Regions from separate parts of the Homo sapiens genome. Here region 1 is linked to region 2. Evidence: promoter capture Hi-C in human tissues and cell types (Jung and others, 2019). All regions are on one chromosome and are shown on one strand. The core of a region is centred on a gene start or on the middle of the fragment in contact, and the rest is flanking DNA. Distances in the headings are between cores, read along the strand shown.

The links. The method cuts DNA at HindIII sites, captures the fragments that hold promoters and counts their contacts. A contact is called where the count stands out against the background at its distance.
Region 1: a contact is called between a fragment that was not itself captured here and the fragment with the promoter of ZNF850 in region 2, in 2 of the 25 tissues and cell types used here (adrenal gland and dorsolateral prefrontal cortex).

What each region holds. Positions count from the first base shown.
Region 1 is chr19:37,475,278-37,481,238 of GRCh38, reverse strand. It overlaps ZNF570 (zinc finger protein 570), which reads right to left. Exons shown (of 5, transcript NM_144694.5): 3 at 5,232-5,358; 4 at 4,805-4,900. Among named protein-coding and RNA genes, the nearest start is that of ZNF570, 8.9 kb to the right of the region's middle. The HindIII fragment of the contact is 4,482 bases long and covers 1-4,186 here.
Region 2 is chr19:36,770,905-36,776,389 of GRCh38, reverse strand. ZNF850 (zinc finger protein 850) reads left to right here and starts at 3,583. Exons shown (of 5, transcript NM_001193552.2): 1 at 3,583-3,665. It overlaps LOC728485 (a long non-coding RNA gene), which reads right to left and starts at 3,237. Exons shown (of 2, transcript NR_164117.1): 1 at 2,881-3,237; 2 at 1-1,004. RefSeq lists enhancers at 3,323-3,482, 3,623-3,762 and a silencer at 3,749-4,043. The HindIII fragment of the contact is 7,262 bases long and covers 1-5,389 here.

The DNA of each region.
Region 1 (5,961 bases), core at 696-3,195, 710 kb before region 2:
GAGGTTGCGGTGAGCCGAGATTGCACCACTGCACTCCAGCCCGGGTGACAGTGCAAGACTCCATCTCAAAAAAAAAAAAAATCTGTCAATCTATGACTGACAGAGAAAGCTTCTTCTATGCATGACAGCAAAACTATCATATAAATGAACAAAACATAACAACAATAAAAGTTGATATGAATAGTATATAAATATTTATAAAGAAGTTACTTCAGGAAAAAGTTCTGGGACAGAATGGTGAACAGGGAAAATGACAAACATGGATAATTTTTTGTTTTGTTTTTTTTTTTGAGACAGAGCCTTGCTCTGTCACCTAGGCGGTAGTGCAGTGGCACGTTCTCAGCTCACTGTACCTTGAACTCCTGGGCTCAGGCGACCCTCCCACCTCAGCCTCCCAAGTAAATGGAACTACAGGCACACACCCCATACCCAGCTAATTTTCGCATTTTGTAGAGACGGGGTTTCACCATGCTGCCCAGGCTGGTCTCAAACTCCTAGACTGAAGTGATGCACCTGCCTTGGCCTCCCAAAGTGCTGGGATTACAGCCATAAGCCACCACACCTAGCCAAAAGTGGATAAATCTAAACAACACTAAATATAATATGGTCTAAATTAAATAAATATAATAATGGTCTATTATACAACTTCATAAAGCAAAATAATAATTTAAGAAAAGCAAGGAATAACTGAAATGAGGGTAAGTGAAGTTAAGACAGTCTAAGGTTCTTGGTGTTTTGTTTTGTTTTGTTTTTTGAGATGGAGTTTTGCTCTTGTTGCCCAGGCTGGAGTGCAGTGGCACGATCTTGGTTCACTGCAACCTCCACCTCCTGGGTTCAAGCGATTCTCCTGCCTCAGCCTCCCAAGTAGCTGGGACTGCAGGTGCATGCCACCACGCCCAGCTAATTTTTGTATTTTTAGTAGAGACGGGGTTTCACCATGTTAGCCAGGCTGGTCTCGATTTCTTGACCTCGTGATCCACCCGCCTCGGCCTCCCAAAGTGCTGGGATTACAGGCGTGAGCCACCGTGCCTGGCTACGTTCTTGTATTTTTAGTGGTCAAATATAAAGATTAGAATTAATTTTAGGTTTTGTTAAGGTGACTATAAATGTTAGATTTTCTAAGGTAACCAGTACAGAATAGAAATAGATTGTAAAACATTCAAATTAGGAGATGGAGAAAAACCAAGAAATAAGAAAAATTTGAAAAGGCACAATTTATAAAAGAAAGTGAGGTAGTGGAAAATAAATCCAAATCTATTAATAGTACCAAAAAATTTAACTGACCACCACCATCATTTGGTTAAAAGATAAAGGTTATCAGACTGGATTTTAAAAAATGTTTATCCAAATACTGCTTATAAGAGAAACACACAGCAAGCCGGAGAATAAAGGAGTAGGAAAAAACTACATCAAGTAAATATTAACAAAAGGCAAATATAGCTATAACAATATTAAGTGAATTCTTTTTGCTTAATCAGATAGTCACTAGAATTAAAGAGAGTAACAATAATATAAGAATTCACTAGAAAAATAAAACATTCTAAAAACATATGACCAAATGAAATACCTTCAAAATATAAAAAAAACTGCTGTTACAATTACAAGAAAAAAATTTATGTATTTACCACCAGAGTAGAAGTTTCTTTAACATGTCTCTCAGTAATTGATGGCTCAAAGACATTTTTTTTAAATTCATAAGGACACAGAAGATTTGACCAGCACAGTTAATGAGCTTAACCTAATGAGCAAATATCAAACACTGTATTCAACAACCAGAAAATACATATTATTTTCAAGGACACAAAGAATATTTACCAAAACTAGCCCTAAGAAATAAAGCAAGTCTCAAAATACTTTCAATAAATGTATATTGAAGAGATCCCATTCTCTAACCATAATACAATTAAACAAGTACCAAACAAAAGCCTTCAATTTCAAACTTCTAAATAATTCACGGATCAAGAAATCATTGAGAACCAGAAAAATAATGGACAACTTCATCTAATAAGTTTGAAAACTTACATCAAAACTAAAAATATTTAGAAAAAAATACCCTAATTGCCTCTAGGAGAAATAGAAAACCTAGAATTTTAGAACATATCAAATTGAATGATTAGTTTAAATTCTTTTAACAATAAAAATTCCAAGCCAAAATGAACAAAGTTCTACCAAACATTCAAAAAACAAATAATTTTTATTTTACACAAATGTTTCTAAAGAAGAAAAAGAGAATTTACGAGACTAATCAACCTTGATTCCGAAATCTGACAAGAAAGGAAAACTGAAGATCAAATTCACTAATAAATACAGATGCAAAACACCCAAACAAAATATTGGCAAACAGCAACTAGCAAAAAGTGGAAAAGATATAAAGATGGGTTTAACTTGGGAATGCAATGTTGGTTCAACATTTGAAAATGTATGTAATTTACCACATTAAGATGTGAAAAACTAAAACCTATTAAGAGGTAAAAATCACCCACAGATGGAGAAAAACATTTGTTAAAACTCAAAAGCTTTCCACAATGAAACTCTAGCAAACAGGAATGAAAGGGTATGTACCAAAACTTTTAAGCATCAAAATTATTAAAAAACAAAATGCTAAAGTATTCTTATTAAGACCGGAAGTGGACAAGAATGCCTGTTATCACTACTTCGATTCATATTATACTGGAGATACGACAAAGGCAACAGAAAAATAAATTAAGGTATAAGAATTGAAAATGAAGAAACTACCATTATTCACAAATATATCTACTCATACATAAAATCCAAACATATTTAAAAATATTATTAACAGGAGAGATTGGCAAGGTTGCTGGATATAAGGCCAATGCATACGAAGTTAATTTCATTTCTATATATGAGCAACAAACAGAAAATATAGATAACATTTAACACAGCAACAAAACTAATATGTTTAATGTTTACAATTTAATCTAACAGAAGATGTGCAAAGCCTTTTTTGGAGAAAATTATAAAACACTGAAAAAAGTGAAAAAACCTAAATAAATGGAGAGCTATACCATGTTAATGAATTTTTAAAATTTCCAGAATTGATTACAGAATAAATAAAATTTGAATCAAAAGTTAAAATTTGAATCAAAAGTTAACAGCATTTTGTTGTTTTCTGATAGAAATTTACAAGTTGACCCTAAACTTTATATTGATGTCCAAAGGGCAAACAAGAAATTCTAAAGAATTTAAACAAGCTGTAGAGATTTTCCCTAGCAGATAATTATCCTTCTAATAAACTATTTTTATTAAGACAGTGTGGTACTGGTATAAGGAAACAGAGATCAATGAAACTGAATAAAGCTTAAAGTCAAACCCATATATAGACTAAAACCTGGTATATTAAGAGGTAACATTCAGAAAAACAGGCAGAGGGAACACTTATTCAAAAAATATCTGGGACCTTTGGTTTTCCATAAGATACAGAAATTAAATTCTTATTTAAAATAATCCTCAAAAATAAGTTCCAATTGGATTATGGACCTACATATAAAAGGACAATCTTTAAAAGACTATTTTCAGATATCTATATGAACTCAGAACATAGAAAGGTTTCTTAAAGTATCAAAAACATAAGCTACAGGCTGGGTGCAGTGGCTCACGTCTGTAATCCCAGCACTTTGGAAGGCTGAGGCTGGCGGATCACCTGAGATCAGGAGTTGGAGACCAGCGTGGCCAACATGGTGAAACCTCGTCTCTACTAAAAATACAAAAAAATTAGCCAGGCGTGGTGGTGGGTGCCTGTAGTTCCAGTTACTGGGGAGGCTGAGGCAGGAGAATCACTTGAACCCAGGAGGCAGAGGTTGCAGTGAGCCGAGATCATGCCACTGTACTCCAGCCTGGGCAACAGAGCGAGACTCTGTCTCAAAAAAAAAAAAAAAAGTTACAAATACACACACACACACACACACACACACACACACACACACACACACGACAACCTCCCCCACAATGAGCACCTTAGGAAAAATCACACATGCAACCTGTTTTTCCTTTTCTCTCGCACCACAACAATAAACACAGAAGGCTTCTGTGACTGAATGTGGGGGTTTCTCTCCACCAACAAGCAAGCAATGAATTCTGCAGTGGGTGTCCTCTACCTCAGCTCTATTTTGATACTGTCTACCTGGAGATAGCATCAGATCCCTCAGGTTGAGGACTCAGTCCCCAAGGCTGCCTACACTTCTGATGCTCTGTAGAGCTCAAAAATTTATAAGAGGCCAGGCACAGTGGTTCATGCCTGTAATGCCAGCACTTTGGAAGGCTGAGGCAGGCAGATCACGTGAGGTCAGGAGTTTGAGACCAGCCTAACATGGAGAAACCCTGTCTCTACTAAAAATACAAAAATTAGCTGGGCGTGGTGGCATGTGCCTGTAATTCCAGCTCCTGGGAAGGCTGAATCAGGAGAATTGCTTGAACCCGGGAGGCGGAGCTTGCAGTGAGCCGAGACTGCACCACTGCACTCCAGCCTGGGTGACAGAGCGAGACTCTGTCACAAAAAAAAAAAAAAAAAAAAAAGTTTATAAGACTACTACAAGATTTTTTAAAGACTGAGAGGCTTATGAAACTGAGAGGGGATGGGACTTGTTAGAAAGGAGATAGGAAAGTAAGAGAAGGGAAATAATTAAAAATAACAAATGTGGGAGAACATCCTAAATGGCCCCAAATTTTTATGAAAACCTAGAACATTTGAGAAGAATTTGGAAGCCTGAAGAGTGAAGAGGTGATACCTTTGAGTCAAGCTGAGCTGTCACGTGCAAAGATTTTTGCCAATTTCCTCTTCACTAACCTGAGCACAAGCCTTTTGTCAGCTCTCTCTTCACCATCCAGGGTGCTTTTCCTTGTTCCAACAATAATATCACACTTGGTTTGGAAAAGCAAAGTCCTGCAAATACGAAAAAAAAAAGTAGAGTTTTGTCATGCTGTGGATATTCCAGAACTCACATTCAATCCTTAGCTCATCAGGGAAAAGGGAGTTTACAGTAAGCAAAAAGAGAAATGTGTAAAGGACATGTATTAGAAGGATAAGGAAGATGAAGCTTCAGGCACAGGCCAAGAATATGTTCACTGCCAAATCCACAAACACTAAGCCATTTGTTTGGCATAGGCAGCAGACATTCAGCCAAATTTTGCAGATATTATCCAAAAATTCACAATAGTGGTAGCAAAGAGCCCCTTTTGAGCAGAAGCTCAGTTTTGCAAGAAGATATCCTTACCCAGTGATACCAAGATCCTGTAGTTCTCTAGCATCACATTACTGTACAGATGTCTTTGAGAAGAATCCAGACAATCCCATTCCTCTTGGGAGAAGTCTACAGCCACATCTCTGAAGGTCACCAACTCCTGAAATGAAATAAATGGAAGAACCTTATCTCTTACCATATTCACCTCATTTCCTCTGCCCTAGGCACACTGGGCTCTCTCTGATATTACATCCTCAAATATGTAACCATGTTATCATATTTGTACTCAGGGCCTTTGTATATCTCAGATTATTCCAGTATAAAATAGCACTGCTTCCACCCCAATTCCCTATTTCCTAACCCTCCTTTATTTTTCTCCACTGCACTTAATTATTTTATTCATTGCCTGTTCTTCACCCTCCTCAACTAAAATTTAAGCTCCATGAGGGCAGAGTATGTTTTGGCTTTGGTCACTGCTTTATCCCCAGGTACAGAATAGAACCTGGCACATGTGAAGTATTCAAATTCTGACTCAGTTGAATTAATCAATGAGTGGTTTGAAGAAAATTTCAAGAAGCTAGAAAGGGATCAAAAACAATACCAGAAAGTATTCACTGTATCTCTGAAAACTGTGCTAGACCAAGCAGAGCAGAGCATCAATTCCATTAAAATTCAAATACTTTAATCCAGAGTTCCCAAAATTTTGTGTAAAGAAATGGGTGTTCTACTCATAATATTGCTTCTGCCTACAGGGGTTAGAGAA
Region 2 (5,485 bases), core at 2,334-4,833:
CCAAAAAACAAAACCCCAAAAAAACTCACCACCACCAAAAAACAAAATAAGTAACCTGTATTCTTTGAAAATGTCAAGGTCGGGAACAGGTAGGATACACAGAAAACAAATAGGTGGAAGATTTAAATCGAAATATTTTAGTAGTTTCATTAAATGTACAGAGGAGAGTATGTGCCTATCATTGGGAGTCTGAGACAAGATAAAAGCACGGATCTCATAACAATAAATTACTTTGAAATCTTCTTTCTTGCTCAGTACAGGTCCCGCCGCCGCGCCGCCTGGCTCTCGTATTCCTGGTTCTCGGCGGGCTGTGGGGCTTCCGCGCCGCAGCCGTTAGTCTCGTCGGGTAGGTGACTCCTTCAGCGAGCAGGCGCAGCGACGAGAAAGGCCTGGCGGGGTTGCGCTGTCTTCCCGCCCACCGGAAGGCCCTGAGGAGAAGCCTCGGGCCCTGAGGGAGGGCTTGGGGTCGGGGGCGGCCGCTGCCGCCGCCATGTTGGGCTGGAGGTACGCACGCTCCCAACGCTCTCTGGCTGCGCTCCCAACGGTATCTGGCTGCAAATCACGGCGGGAGCGCCTCGGGCCTCTTGTCTTTTGACCCTGTCCTTGGAACCCGAGGAGACTTGCCGTTCCCGGGGGAGGGTGTGTGTGAGTCGGGCGGCGGAGGCCGTCTACGCCATTGTAGGGGCGGGGGGAGCCGAGATTAGAGCATCAGCCTGAGAGAAGTGGTGCTTCTGGTTCTCCGCTCTGCCTCGCATCTTTCAGCGAGGCCTCGTACCTCAGTTTTCCCATCCGTGAAGTGGAGCTGGGCCTGCCTGACTCATTCATTCATCAGGTGGAGGCCTTGACGCTCTAGGAGCCCTTTCAAAGGACTTTGCCTTACACGAAATAGTACCTATCGTTATTCACTCTGCAGTAACCACCCGGATTTGAGTGGCGGGTGTTTGCACAGTAATTCAGTTTCCTCTTCACCCTCCTGCCATTCGTCTTCCCCTCCAGTTTATCTCCTGAAAGAGTTTGAAATCAGCCTTGTCTATTATTGATAAACTCCTGTAGGTGTATTTGGTATTTCCCTTAAAACATGCAGACCAAAGGAAAGGCAATATTTTCCCCCCACGAAGCAGTTAACTTGGTAGAGGCCAGCCGTTGTATGGAAGAGAAAGAGAGTCTCTTCAGGACAGGCAGTTTGGATCCTGCTAAACCAGAATAAAAAATCTAGAACATGGGCCGGGCGAGGTGGCTCACGCCTGTAATCCCAGCACTTTGGGAGGCCAAGGCGGGCGGATCACGAAGTCAGGAGATCGAGACCATCTTGGCTAATACGGTGAAACCCCGTCTCTACGAAAAATACAAAAAATTAGCCGGGCGTGGTGGCGGGCGCCTGTAGTCCCAGCTACTCAGGAGGCTGAGGCAGGAGAATGGCTTGAACCCGGGAGGCGGAGTTTGCAGTGAGCCGAGATCACGCCACTGCACTCCAGCCTGGGCGACAGAGCAAGACTCCGTCTCAAAAAAAAATAAATAAATAAAAATCTAGAACATGGATGTCCCCTTGCTTTAGCAGACCTAGCTGATCACACAAGGTCCTGTATTGTTAGGCTGCATCACAGGCCGCAAAGACCCAGGTATCTATCCAGTTGTTAGAAACCATCCTGAGAGTTAGATACCACTTTTCTGTTGGAAATACAGACCATTTCCTGAAGCCGTATGGTTGAGGTAAAACAGGCCTTTTGCAGTCTTATATTTTGAGTAAGGCCAAAACTGCCTAGTGTTACAAAACCAGACAAAAAGCCCAGGTACCCAGTCTTGCAGGATAGAAATGTGTGACTAAAATGAAGCATCGATCTGAGAAGACTACAAATGAGCGGGAAAGATTGGACAGGAGCATGCTATACATTATTTAGATTAATGTTGATATTTAAGGAGCCAGGATATTGGTTTGTTTTTGAGGGGTGCCCATCTACTTTATGTAAGAAGCTATAAACTACACTTCTTTCAGTTTCTGCTTAATCCTTGCTCAAACAAGGAATAATTTCTTATTCCAAAGTAGACATTGGTACATCTTTTACTAGGTACATAATTTGGGATGAAGTCTGATAAAGCTCCTTAGAAGTACTTACAGTACACCCTCACAAGGGTGTACCATCTACCCATGGTTTAAACAGAAATTAAAATTCTACCTTCGTGGAAAAATTTGCCAAGTTTTAATGGATTCAGTGCTCATTAAAAACTTTTAGCCTGTCTTGATCTTTAACATAATTATTGGTGTGAAACAATGGCTTCTGTGGAAAATTAAAGTTTTAGTGGTTTGCTATTTGTGAAATACAGGCTTTTTCATGTATCATATTAGCATATAAGCTGGCTTAATCATTAGTACTGATCTTCAAGTTACTAAGACACCAGATATTTGTTACTTTGTAATTTGAGTTTTTAAAAAAATTCCGAAATTGGCTTTTCGATGTGTGAAAAGGACTACTTATTAGATGCTTGTTTTTAAATTTACATTCAATTAATTAAAGCTAGACTCTTTATATTCTTAGGCTTGGTATACTATTTGTATGTTTTGTAGTAAGTGTATAAAAATAATACCTTTGACTTTGTATAAAAAAAATCTTTCTTGCTTTAAAAGCCATGTTGGATTTGCATTCTAGACCGTAATAAATATAACTACTTTAACATAAAAATCTATTTATGTTGTTTATCAGATATTAGGGGTTTTTTTCCCTCTCCTGTCAACCTCCAAATAAAATCGATGCTCCAGAATGATGCCCTCTTATCATAATTTTACAAATACCTGGCTCCAAGGTTACTACCTGATACAAAAATACAATGCTGGTCTCCCAAACAGGCAACTCACATTGACACTCACACAGCTTCCACTCACACCTGCGATCACAAGGCAGCATCTTCGGGCCCTCGTCGGCCACGATCCGCTCCCAGAGAGCATTCGCGCACAATCTTATCCCATCCACGATTTTGATTCCTTTTCTCCCACTTCTTCAACCCTATCCGGGACGAGACCATCAGGTCCCACCTCCACCTTCACCTTCATTTTCCGCGCAATGCAGACTGAGCCCTGGACTCACCCATATACAGATTGAATTGTCCGGTCAGTGTTTCATCCCCTCTGCATTCTGAGGGCGAGTTAGCATCTGGGTGCATGAGTTCCAAACTAACAGCCAGGACCAGGCTTGGAGCCAAGAATCCTTTGGCTCGCATCGTGGCTGGGTTGACCGCTTTTCTGCCCTGGACTACATTTCCCATCGGTTCTACCGTTCGGGGCTACTTCCGCCGAGAACCGGAAGCACGTTTTCCTGTGTCTTACCCCAGATAACAGAGCTGCCAGGGATAATCAGGCCTGACCACTCTAGCGGGCGAGCCGGCCCCATAGCGAGCCGCTCGGCATGAGGGCTCTGCGATCCTCGTTGGAGAGGAGCGGTAAAAGGAAACAAGCCAGGCTTGGAAATGAGAGGCATAGGGAAGCCCGCAGTCGGGCTCTGGACTACATTTCCCAGAGGATCCCGCAGGCCGACGCCACGTCTCGCGAGATTTTGGCTTCCTCTTAGCCAGGTGGCGGGACCGTTTGCTGTGCCGATTTAGCTGCCGCCGCGCCTTGGAGTCCTGAGGAACTTGGCTAGGCTGGCCCCGAGCGGAACCAGAGAATGCTGAGGGTGAGGAATCCGGCTCCGGTCCTTTTGTGTGTGGAGGGCTGAGGAGAGGAGTTTGCGTGTGTGATCGCGATGGCTGCCGTGGGTCTCCGTGGTCTGTGACTGTGGCTGTGTGGTGCTGACTCTGGGTGATCAGGTGGGCGCTTGTGACTGTGCGCGCCCGGAGTGGGTGTGTGTGTCCTGGACGACCCTCGTTGTGCGTGCGGATGTGAAGAACCGGTGACTGTGTGGTTGGACTGCGTGTCCCGGGGTGGGTGTGTGACTTTGCGTGTCTGTGCAGTACCTTGTGTGCGTGAGTTGCAGGTCTGTGGCTGTGCAAGTGCAACTTGTGTGGCCCCTTGGTGTATGTGAGAGAGGAGAGTGTGATTGGCTGTGAGGCAGTGGGTAAGTGGATATGCGGAGGCATGTGTGCGATTGGGACTTTGTGTGTCCCCTTGAGAGAAAAAACTCTTTAGGCAGTTAGGGTGGGACCTTGGTAAAAGTCCTTTAAACAGAGAAACAGCCTGAAAAATCAGGCTGCAGGCATACATAAGGAAAACTCCACAGGGGGGTTGTCCTGAAGACATTCCTCAGCTGCACTGATAAGGGACCGAGGCCCAACATAGAAACGCCTTTGTCCTTTGTGTGACCAGCGGGCTTCCACGAAATAGTCGCTTCTTTTGTGGGCATGTACACGGTGGGCTCTGTTAGATTTTGAAGGGAAGGCGAGGGTTAAAGAAAGAGAGAGAGTTGGCGGCTCTATGGCGGGGACCAACTAAATGCCAGAGCCCACTGCCGCTTCCAGGCTGGGGTAATTACAGGCCTGGGCAGGAGGGGTCTGGGCGGTATGGCTTGTTGCCTGGGAGAAAGTTGATAAGGATGTTTCTTGGGCTTTTGCCCAGCAGGATGTGATAAGGAAGTCAGGCGGTTGGGAAGGATGTTTCGCACAGCCCAAACCCGGGTGGAATGTTTCCCTCTGACCAGGGTCTGTGAAATGGTGGGGGCTTACGAAACGGTGCAGCTTGGACTAACAGGTTCCGGCGGCCACTTTCCTTTTTTGGACATGCTTTAGACTGTGAGCGCGGCCTCTTTGAATCATAACTTCACCCCCTCATTGGTCCCGGGCCAAGCTTTCACTTCAGCCCCTGATTGGTCCCGGGCCAAACTTTCACTTCAGCTCCTGATTGGTCCCGGCCCAAACTTTCACTTCAGCTCCTGATTGGTCCCGGGCCAAACTTTCACTTCAGCCCCTAATTGGTCCCGGGCCAAACTTTCACTTCAGCTCCTGATTGGTCCCGGGCCAAACTTTCACTTCAGCCCCTGATTGGTCCCGGGCCAAACTTTCACTTCAGCCCCTGATTGGTCCTGGGCCAAACTTTCACTTCAGCCTGGGATTGGTCCCGGGCTAAGGTCCCAGGGCCAAGCTGGGTAGTGCTTTCTTCAAGACAGCCCACGTTCCTCCCCTTCCCAGTTAATAAACCCCCCCAGATTCAGCCTCCTAGTTGGCAACCCTCTTTTGGGTCCCTCCGCTGGGGAGAGCTTTCTTCTTTTGCTTATTAAACTTCCGCTCCGACCTCATCCTTTGTGTCCCTGTTCCTTAATTTTCTTGGCCGTGAGAGAAAGAAGGCAAAAACAAGAGCCTTTACCCTAACAACTCAATTGCTGCAGAGATTAGTGCATATTCTATGTGGCATCACACGCCATAGCCCTGGGATTGAAAGCCATGCAGTTTATGGGATGGTGTTAATCTCAGTCCAAATAAGTGATAAGATCTTTCACTTTGCTATATTTTAGGGGTAGGAATGAGATTGGGGGCTCGATCAATAGTTTGTACCAATAACACC